Regions from separate parts of the Homo sapiens genome. Here region 1 is linked to region 2. Evidence: promoter capture Hi-C in 16 types of primary human blood cells and fetal thymus (Javierre and others, 2016). All regions are on one chromosome and are shown on one strand. Each heading gives the region's core, a stretch centred on a gene start or on the middle of the fragment in contact. The rest is flanking DNA. Distances are from core to core; before and after follow the strand shown.

What was found. Contacts are between HindIII fragments. The CHiCAGO score rates a contact against its expected background, and 5 or more counts as called.
Region 1: a fragment that was not itself captured here is called in contact with the fragment with the promoter of C10orf55 in region 2 in 1 of 17 cell types (monocytes); the score reaches 5.2 in monocytes.

What each region holds. Positions count from the first base shown.
Region 1 is chr10:74,027,159-74,031,885 of GRCh38, forward strand. All of the region lies in intron 1 of VCL (vinculin), which reads left to right. LOC124902455 (a long non-coding RNA gene) reads left to right here and starts at 1,457. Exons shown (of 2, transcript XR_007062197.1): 1 at 1,457-2,774; 2 at 2,944-4,727. The HindIII fragment of the contact is 1,197 bases long and covers 2,468-3,664 here.
Region 2 is chr10:73,921,198-73,925,971 of GRCh38, forward strand. It overlaps C10orf55 (chromosome 10 putative open reading frame 55), which reads right to left and starts at 1,580. Exons shown (of 5, transcript NR_160938.1): 1 at 1,436-1,580. RefSeq lists an enhancer at 1-270. The HindIII fragment of the contact is 3,151 bases long and covers 182-3,332 here.

The DNA of each region.
Region 1 (4,727 bases), core at 1,816-4,315, 110 kb after region 2:
CTGTTTTTATTCTGGTGGGGCTCTGGGATACTTTCATGGTATTCACACATATTTCCTTTTAAAAAATAATTACATATGCAAGAGATAGGACAGGTGGTAGCGTTGACCTAATTTCTGTTGGCAATATTTAGCTTTCCGTTTTAAATATATTTACCCATTTTTTTTTTTTTGTAATGACATGTGGGAGCCCAGCTAGTCACCCTCATATAGTCATAGAGTATTAAAGTTTATAGATGTCATGCCTGTAATCCCAGCACTTTGGGAGGCCGAGGTAGGTGAATCATTTGAGGTCAGGAGTTCAAGACTAGCCTGGCCAACATGGTGAAACCCCGCCTCTACTAAAAATACAAAAATTAGCCAGGTGTGGTGGCGGGCACCTGTAGTCCCAGCTACTCAGGAGGCTGAGGCAGGAGAATCGCTTGAACCCGGGGGGCGGATGTTGCAGCCATTGCGCTCCAGCCTGGGTGACAGAGCGAGACTGTCTCAAAAAAAAAAAAAAAAAAAAAAAAATGAAGTTTATGGATGTGTTGAAGAAAGAATGAAGATAAAAAGAATGTTTTCCTGAGTGAATTGTATAAGAATTTGAAGGAATTGAGGAGCTAAAGAGCATGTGCGCACAGATATGAAAATGATAAAATTAAATTTTCATTTCATCTTAAATCTTCATCATTTTACTTCAGTTGGCATTTAATTTCTGAGCATATGCTATGTGCCAGTCACCATGTGTCATGGCTATGAGGGAAAAAAACAGTCACAGACCCTTAGTCACAAATTTGCAAAAGAATTTGCTTTGTACTTGAAGCATCTACTAGAGATTATATTCAGATCATCCAGTGATGTTTTCCTCTTTATCGGTATTTATGAATATGTAAAGGTTACTTAATTATAACTAGTGGGAATAAGACTGAGGGTTTTTTTGTTTGTTTTTGTTTTTTAAGACAGGATCTCCCCCTGTTGCCCAGGCCAGAGTGCAGTGGTGCAATCATAGCTTACTACAGCCTCGATCTTCTCAGCTCAAGTGATTCTCCTGGATCACCCTCCCAAGTAGCTAGGACTACAGGCAAGAGCCACCACACCTAGTTAATTTTTTATTTTTTTTATTTTTTGTAGAGACAGGGTCTTGCTATGTTGCCCAGGCTGGTCTCAAACTCCTGGCTTCAAGTGATCTTCCAGCCTTGGCTTCCCAAAATGCTGGAATTATAGGTGTGAGCCACTGCTCCCAGCCTTAAGTAATCTTTTTTTTTTTTTTTTTTTTGAGACAGGGTTTCGCTCTTGTCACCCAGGTTGGAGTGCAATGGCGTGATCTTGGCTCACTGCAACCTCTGCCTCCCGGGTTCAAGCAATTCTCCTGCCTCAGCCTCCCAAGTAGCTGGGATTACAAGCATCCACCACCATGCCCAACTAATTTTTGTATTTTTAATAGAGACGGGGTTTTACCACGTTGGCCAGGCTGGTCTCGAACTCCTGACCTCAGGTGATCCACTCACCTTGGCCTCCCAAAGTGCTGGGATTACAGGCGTGAGCTATGGCGCCTGGCAAGTAATCTTTTTAATAACTAAGAACACTGGAAAAACTAGAGGAGATTATTAGTAAAAGGTGTTCATTTTATTTTCCCATAATTATTGCTTGATTTCCTGTCACTAGTCAGGACTAAAAGGTGGGAGATGTGGGACCTTTGAGTTCTGTTACATAGCATTTGCTTATGTATGTTTGCAACTAAAATGGAAACTTTAGGCTGGGCACAGTGGCTCATGCCTGTAATCCCAGCATTTTGGGAGGCCCCTGGAGTAGTTGGGACTACAGCTAGGTGCCACCATGCCCAGCCGATTTTTGTATTTTGAGTAGAGATGGGGTTTCACCATGTTGGCTAGGTTGGTCTCAAACTCTTGGCCTCAAGTGATCCACCCACTTCGGCCTCCCAAAGTGCTGGGATTACAGGCGTGCCTCCATACAGAAGAATTTTTTTTTTTTTTGAGATGGAGTCTCGCTCTATCACCCAGGCTGGAGTGCAGTGGCGTGATCTCGGCTCACTGCAAGCTCCGCCTCCTGGGTTCATGCCATTCTCCTGCCTCAGCCTCCCTAGTAGCTGGGACTACAGGCGCCCACCATCATGCCCGGCTAATTTTTTGTATTTTTAGTAGAGACGGGGTTTCACTGTGTTAGCCAGGATGGTCTCGATCTTCTGACCTCATGATCCCCCTGCCTCAGCCTCCCAAAGTGCTGGGATTACAGGCGTGAGCCACTGCGCCTGGCCAGAAGAATCTTGAGTTGAGGGGGAGGATGAAGTGTTTGCACATTAGAAGCTTAGTCATGGTATCTTCATAAATGGGGATCTGGTGAGCAAGGTTGCTCTGCTAACATTTATGTAGCCTTAACTGACAGACTGAGTCTCATATTGGGTTAGAATAAACAGCTGCTGCCAAGGAAGCTTAACATTGGTTCTAAGGAAACTATGTGGCATCAGATAAGCTTGCTTGACATCAGAACTTGCCACTGACATGGTTCATCTGCTGCCTAGCCTATGTGATTGTGTTCTCATTGATGCACATTTAAATTAATATTTTGGGCAATTGGTTAAAATTTTGACCTTTAGGCCCTAGAGGTTTCTCATGACTTTATTTATGAAGAATATTGTTGATGCATTTTAGAATTTAATTTGTGTTTTTTTCTGATTATGAAGGCAATACATAGTTGATTTAAAAAAAATACTCTGGAAAAAGTATAGAAAAGGATTAAGAAGAAAATAAAAATCACCTGAAATTCTACTTCCCATGGTATGTTTGCTTCCAGTTATTTTTTCAATGTGGATATATATTTGGGAGAGAGTGGGATGTTTCCTTATTAGTGAAATAGCTGAGGCTTCAGTAAAATTTCACTTAACACTCATGATATTGAGATGTTTGCCTAATGCACTGTGCTAATTAAGGTTGTTTGTTTAATCAGGTGGTACAAATTCTGATGCCTTAGGAGCCAAATAGGCAATGAGTGAATCAGGCCAGTTATAAGCACTGGGGAGTGATGGCAACTGTGGTTAACTGGAAAATGCCGGCCCTAACTGAAGAAGTTACTACCATCTTCAACTTACTGTTGTCACATGGAAACAGGGGCTAATGTTACCAAATCTTCCTAATTGTCAAGAAAGTCCCAGAAGTCTGTTTCTTTTTAATGTGAAATTTCTCATGTTAAAAAATACTGTGCAGGTCAAACAAAATAGTCTGTGTGTTGCACTTGGCCCATACACTGGCATTTTTTGTCACTCCTGACATAAATGCTTCTCAATCTTTCTCATAGCTCTTACAAGAAGAGCACATTTATTAAAGAAAATGTTGGGAGAGGAGTTTATGCATAAGGAGTTTCTGAGAATGGCTTCAGGAACTTTTCCGTCTGAGAGGGTTGCTTAGTATAGAAATGATAAACTCAGTTACAGGAATCAGGTGGTGACATAAATGAGTAAAATGAATTGGGATTAAGATTATGAGTGTGGACATGGTACAAATGCGCTGTTTGGGACATTTGGGTTCCAGTAATGTTTTTCCTTGATGGAATGCAGATCCAAATTGCTGCCAGACCTTCTAAGATTTAAGAGATGTCAGAAATTTGGATCTTTGTGAAATTTCTTGATTTTCAACTCATTTATGCATAGTGTTCCATTATTGGAACGCTAAGCTTGTGGGAGTTATTTATATCCTACTGCTCAAGGTCATCGCCAAGGTCTGATTTTTCACACAAAAAAATTGCAACCTCTGGCACAAATGGGTTAAAAATACTATGTGGACCAAACAAAAACCATCCTTGCCCCAAATTCTACACAAAATCCACTAATTTGCAGCTCTTGGCCTAGATCACTGTTTCCTACATATGTCCTAGAAATCCTAATTCTGTCATATATTAATAGGTGCTAAGAAATAAGGAATTCTTGGTCACATGAATTTGGAAAATGATGGATTAAACAAAACTGAACACATTTCCTGACTGAAGGTTATCATAGATCCTCAATTATGCTAATGTGCCTTGTAAATTCCTAAGAAGATATAGCCCATTACCCCACAGTTACAGTTAGGTCACCATCTCCACTTGCTTCCCCCACCACCCCCCTTGTCTAGGGTAAGAGTGGCTTTCCTCCTGGTAAAGGTTAGTCTCTGTATCTCTCTCCAGATTCTTACCCTGTCTCTTCAGGGATCTGACTTCAGAAGAAATCTATTTCCTGCCTCTTGTCCTGTAGCCTATCAGTATGCTTGGTTTTCTCCAGTTTAAAAAAAATGACGACCTTTTCTTATACCATACACAAAAATTGACTCCAAATGGATCACAGACCTAACTATAAGAGCTAAAACTATAAAATTCTTAGAATAAAACATGGGAGTAAATCTTCATGATCTCAGGTTAGATGAAGCCTTCTTAAGTGTTACACCAAAAGCACAAGTAGCAAAAGACAAAACAAAACAACAGGAAAAAAGCACAAGCAACCAAAATCACAAACAACAAAAGAAGACAAGCTGGGCTGCAATCCCAGCACTTTGGGAGGCCCCGCAGGCAGATTACTTGAGCCCAGAAGTTCGAGATCAGCCTGGTCACCATGGTGAAACCCTGTCTCTACAAAAAATACTAAAAATTAGCCGAGTGTGGCCCGGCACGGTGGCTCATGCCTGTAATCCCAGCACTTTGGGAGGCCGAGGCGGGCGGATCACCTGTGGTCAGGAGTTCCAGACCAGCCTGACCAACGTGGA
Region 2 (4,774 bases), core at 330-2,829:
CAGTAGAGAAAATGGAGGCACAGACAGATTGAGTGACTTGCACGAGGCAATGCAGCTCCAAATGCAAAGAGTCAGGGTTCGAACCCAGGCAGCCATCTCCAGAGTCCTCATGCGCGGTACTAGGATTTATCACCTCTCAGGAGAGTCCAACTAGGGCAAAAGGAGAGCAGCCCCCCTTTCAAGCTTTCTACTTTATGGTTGCTGGGTTTCTAGGCAACAGCTATCAGAATTTTTTTTTTTTTTTTGAGACGGAGTCTCACTCTGTTGCCAGGCTGGAGTGCAGTGGCGTAATCCTGGCTCACTGCAACCTCCGCCTCCCGGGTTCAAGTGATCCTCCTGCCTCAGCCTCCTGAGTAGCTGAGATTACAGGCACATGCCACCACGCCCGGCTAATTTTTGTATTTTTAGTAGAGACGGGGTTTCACCATGTTGGCCAGGATGGTCTCGGTCTCTTGACCTTGTGATCCACCCGCTTTGGGCTCCCAAAGTGCTGGGATTACAGTTGTAAGCCACCCGCCCAGCCCAGAATTTTTTTTTTTTTTTCCATACACAGTCTTGCTCTGTCGCCCAGGTTGGAGTGCAGTGGCCCATCTCGGCTCACTGCAACCTCTGCTTCCCAGGTTCAAGCTATTATCCTGCCTCAGCCTCCTGAGTAGCTGGGATTACAGGCGTGCACCACCACACCCGGCTAATTTTTGTATTTTTAGTAGAGACGGGGGTTTCACCATGTTGGCCAGGCTGGTCTCAAACTCCTGACCTCGTGGTTCACCCACCTCGGCCTCCCAAAGTGCTGGGATTACAGGCGTGAGCCACTGCGCCCAGCCTCATCTATCAGAATTTTAATCCTCTCCTAGATAACAATTCTTTCCTCCTAGAAGATTCCCAGGCCAGATGAGGAGACCACACTCAGCCATTGGTTTCAAAGTAAAACTTCACTGTTCTCACAGTAACCTCAGCCTTTCTGCTGCAATCTGGTTTCATTGAAGTGGTTTCCGTTTTCACCAGAACCCCTCTTTCTGAAGTATTCTCAGCCCATTATATTAACAGCACTCAGCCTGCTTTCCACGTATGCCCTATCTTTCCCAAGCTGACCACAGCAGCACCCCTGCCTATACCCCTCCATACTCACTCCCATTGGGTCCACCTTCCTTCCAAGAAGGAAACATTTAAGCCCTCCCTTTGAATTAGATGAAGTAAGAGGAGTTGCTGAGGTGTTTTTTAAAAATCAATTCTGGGCTAGGTGCAATGGCTCACACCTGTAATCCTAATACTGTGGGAGGCCTAGACGGGAGGATTGCTTGAGCCCAGGAGCTCGAGGCTGCAGTGAGCTATGATTGCACTACTGCACTCCAGCCTGGGTGACAGAGCAAGACCCTGTCTCTAAAGAAAAAAAATCAGTTTTATTGAGATATAATTCATATATCATACAACTTACCCATTTATTCTTTCTCTTTTCTAGAGACAGGGTCTTGCTCTGTCACCCAGGCTGATCTCAAACTCCTAGGCCAGAGTGATCCTCCCACCTCAGCCTCCTGAGTGGCTGGAATTACAGGCTCATACCACCACGTCTGGCACCATTTGAAGTGTACAATGCAATGGTTTTTAGTAGATTCACAGAATTGTGAGACATCACAATCAATTTTAGAACACTTCATCACCTCACAAAGAAATCCTGTACCCACTCACAATCACTCCGTTTTTCTCCCCAACCCCCTCAGCCCTAGGCAATCACTAATTTACTACTTTCTGTCCTCTCTGTGGGTTTGCCAATTCTGGGCATTTCATATCAATAGAATCCTATAATATGTGGTTCTTTGTGACTGGCCTCTTTCACTCTTAACATGATGTTTTCAAGTTTTATCCATGGCATAGCATGTGTCAGTGAGGTTGCTGAGTTTTAATAACAAATTGAGGGAAAAGATGGTCTAGGCGAGGTGCAGTGGCTCACATCTGTAAATTCCAGCACTTTGGGATACCAAAGTGGGAGGATCCCTTGAGTTCAGGAGTTCCAGAACAGCCTGGGCAACATAAAGAGGCCCCATCTCAAAAAAAAAAAAAAAAAAAAAAGGATGTTCTAGGTCTCTTTTTGAGGTTTCAGTCACATTGAGATTCATTCAACAATCTTTGTCATTTCTTTCTTTCTTTCTTTTTTTTTTTGAGATGGAATCTCGCTCTGTCGCCCAGGCTGGAGTGCAGTGGCGCAATCTCGGCTTACTGCAATCTCTGCCTCCCAGGTTCAAGCAATTCTCTGCCTCAGCCTCCCGAGTAGCTGGGATTACAGGTGCCTGCCACCATGCCCCACTAATTTTTTTCTATTTTTAGTAGAGACGAGGTTTCACCGTCTTGGCCAGGCCGATCTTAAATTCCTGACCTCATGATCCACCTGCTTCGGCCTCCCAAAGTGCTGGGATTACAGGCATGAGCCACTGCGCCCGGCCCTTTGTCATTTTTTTAAAGTACCCATACACAGGACATTATTTTAGATACAAATGAGGCAGTCCTAGTCCTCAAGGAGCTCACCACTTTGCAAAGTGCTATACTAAGTCTGCATAAAATGCATGGAAAAATAATGAAGAAGCAATTGATTCTGCCTGGTGAAGTCAATGACGACTTTACAGAAGAGGTGATATTTTACCTGGACATTCAAATACACACAGAAATTTGCCAAACTAGAAGAAAGGCATTGTAGGCGTAGGGAAGTTCATGGAGGCATGAAAAGGTGAGGTGTTCTAAGGAAATGAGGAATAGTCCATTGTGGTGGAGAACTCTGGGGGGCAATGAGTAGGTGGAGATGGTGGGGAAGGATCTGGTGGGATCCAGCTGGTGATGACCCTGCTGCAGGACTGATTCTCAGCAGCAGGCACTGGTTCTGCTCAGTGACTAAACAGATGCTGTCCTGAGATCCTCTCCGCGTGGCCCCTGCCATCAGCCTCTCTCCACTTCTTCATGATCCAGCAACCACAGGGTTAATGCCTGTGGCACAGCAAAGGCCTCTGAGATCCTCCCTCCTCCAGCTGGCTCAGGCGAAAGTGTCCTACTGGGGTATCTTGATAGTTAAATATTTTGACTATCACCTCTTGCCCTCAGGCACTATTTTTCAAAATCCAGAAAGTGAATTAAGTTCTAGAAGCCATAAAAAAATTGGCTTTTTAAACTAAACATTTTTATTCAATTGTAAAAGTAGCTACAAATGTAAAATACTTTCATAGCATTCCACAGCCATTGTTAACATCTCTGGCTTCTTGGGTTCCTTTGTAATCTCAACCTCTTTTACTCGGTCTTAAATGTTAGGATTCCTAAAGCCTGATCTTAAACTTCCTATTCCCACCCTAAGCTTTCTCCCTTAGGATCTTGTTAGCACCCAGGCTTAAATGACCACCAATAAACAGATGGCTTACAAAGCTGATCTCTAGCCAGACCTCTCTTCTGCACTCCAGACTCTTATTTTCTGTTGTCTACTTGACACCCCTTTTGGTTGTCACTCACAGGGGACCTCAAAGTCAACCTGCCCCAAACTGGCCGAGTCTTCATGCCCCAGTGTGGAGACATCTCCCATCACTTTCTGTCTCAGATGATAGCACCACATCCATTCAATTATGAAAGCCAGAAACCTGGGGCCATCCTGATGCTTCTCTCCTGGTTTCCTTCATCCCCTCCATCACCAAATCCTGGGGATTTGACTGATATCTCTTGAAGTCGTCCATTTCTCTCCCTCCCCACCATCACCATTAGTTGAGCCCAGTCTACCCTACAATAGCTTCCCAGTTTGGTGCCACTGCACTACAGCCTGGGCGACAAGAGCAAAACTCAGTCTCAGAAAAAAAAAAAAAAAAAGGACCAAAGGACCACTAAAAGAAGAGCACTCTTTTTTTCTTTTTTGAAGCAGGGTCTTGCTCTGTTGCCCAGGCTGGAGTGCAGTGGCACAATCCTAGTTCACTGCAGCCTTGACCTCCTGGGTTTAAATGATCCTCCTGCCTCAGCCTTCCAAGTAACTGGAACCACAGGTATGTGCCACCACACCTGGCTAATTTTTTTTTTTAATTCTTTTGTAGAGACAGGGTCTTACCATGTTGCCCAGGCTGGCTGGTCTCAAACTCCTGGGCTCAAGTGATCCTCCTGCCTTGGCCTTCCAGTGTGCTGAGATTATAGGCATAAGCCACCATGGCTGGCCTAAGAAGGGCATTCTTAGCACAGGTTGGTGAGGATTAGGGGCTAGAAGAGAACCCAAAAGTTTCATTTATTCACTGATTCATCCTTCACTCATTAATATAGCAAACACTTATTGGGAGTCGGCCATGGGCCTGGCATTGTGCTGTGTATTGGGTATAAAGATGAGAGCCCCAGTCTCAACCCCAGTGAGATAAGGGTCAAGTTGGGGAAGAGACACATTGCAAATGAATAGAGTACAGGGTGAGGAAGATTTACAAGATGGGCAGGGATGGCTAAGACAGCAAGGTGGAGGAGGTGACCTTGGGGAGAATCTTGAAGGGCAAATACAGGAGGAAGAAATGCTTCTCTGAGCAGAGGAAACAGCACATGCAAACGTGAAGAGGAGGGAGGAAGCCCAGGGCACCGGAGGGACTGCAGGTGGTTCCAGCCGCTGGGGTAGGGGCTGGCATTGAAGTGATTTGACTGGAGGGATTGGCAAGAGCTGGAACCTACGGGCCTAGAGGACTCTGCCTGACACATGAAGGACTTTGAACTTTCTTGTGATGTGGAATTGTTAAAGATTTTGGAGCAGTGTGAAAAATTGATCAAAGGAAGATTCTTGGGC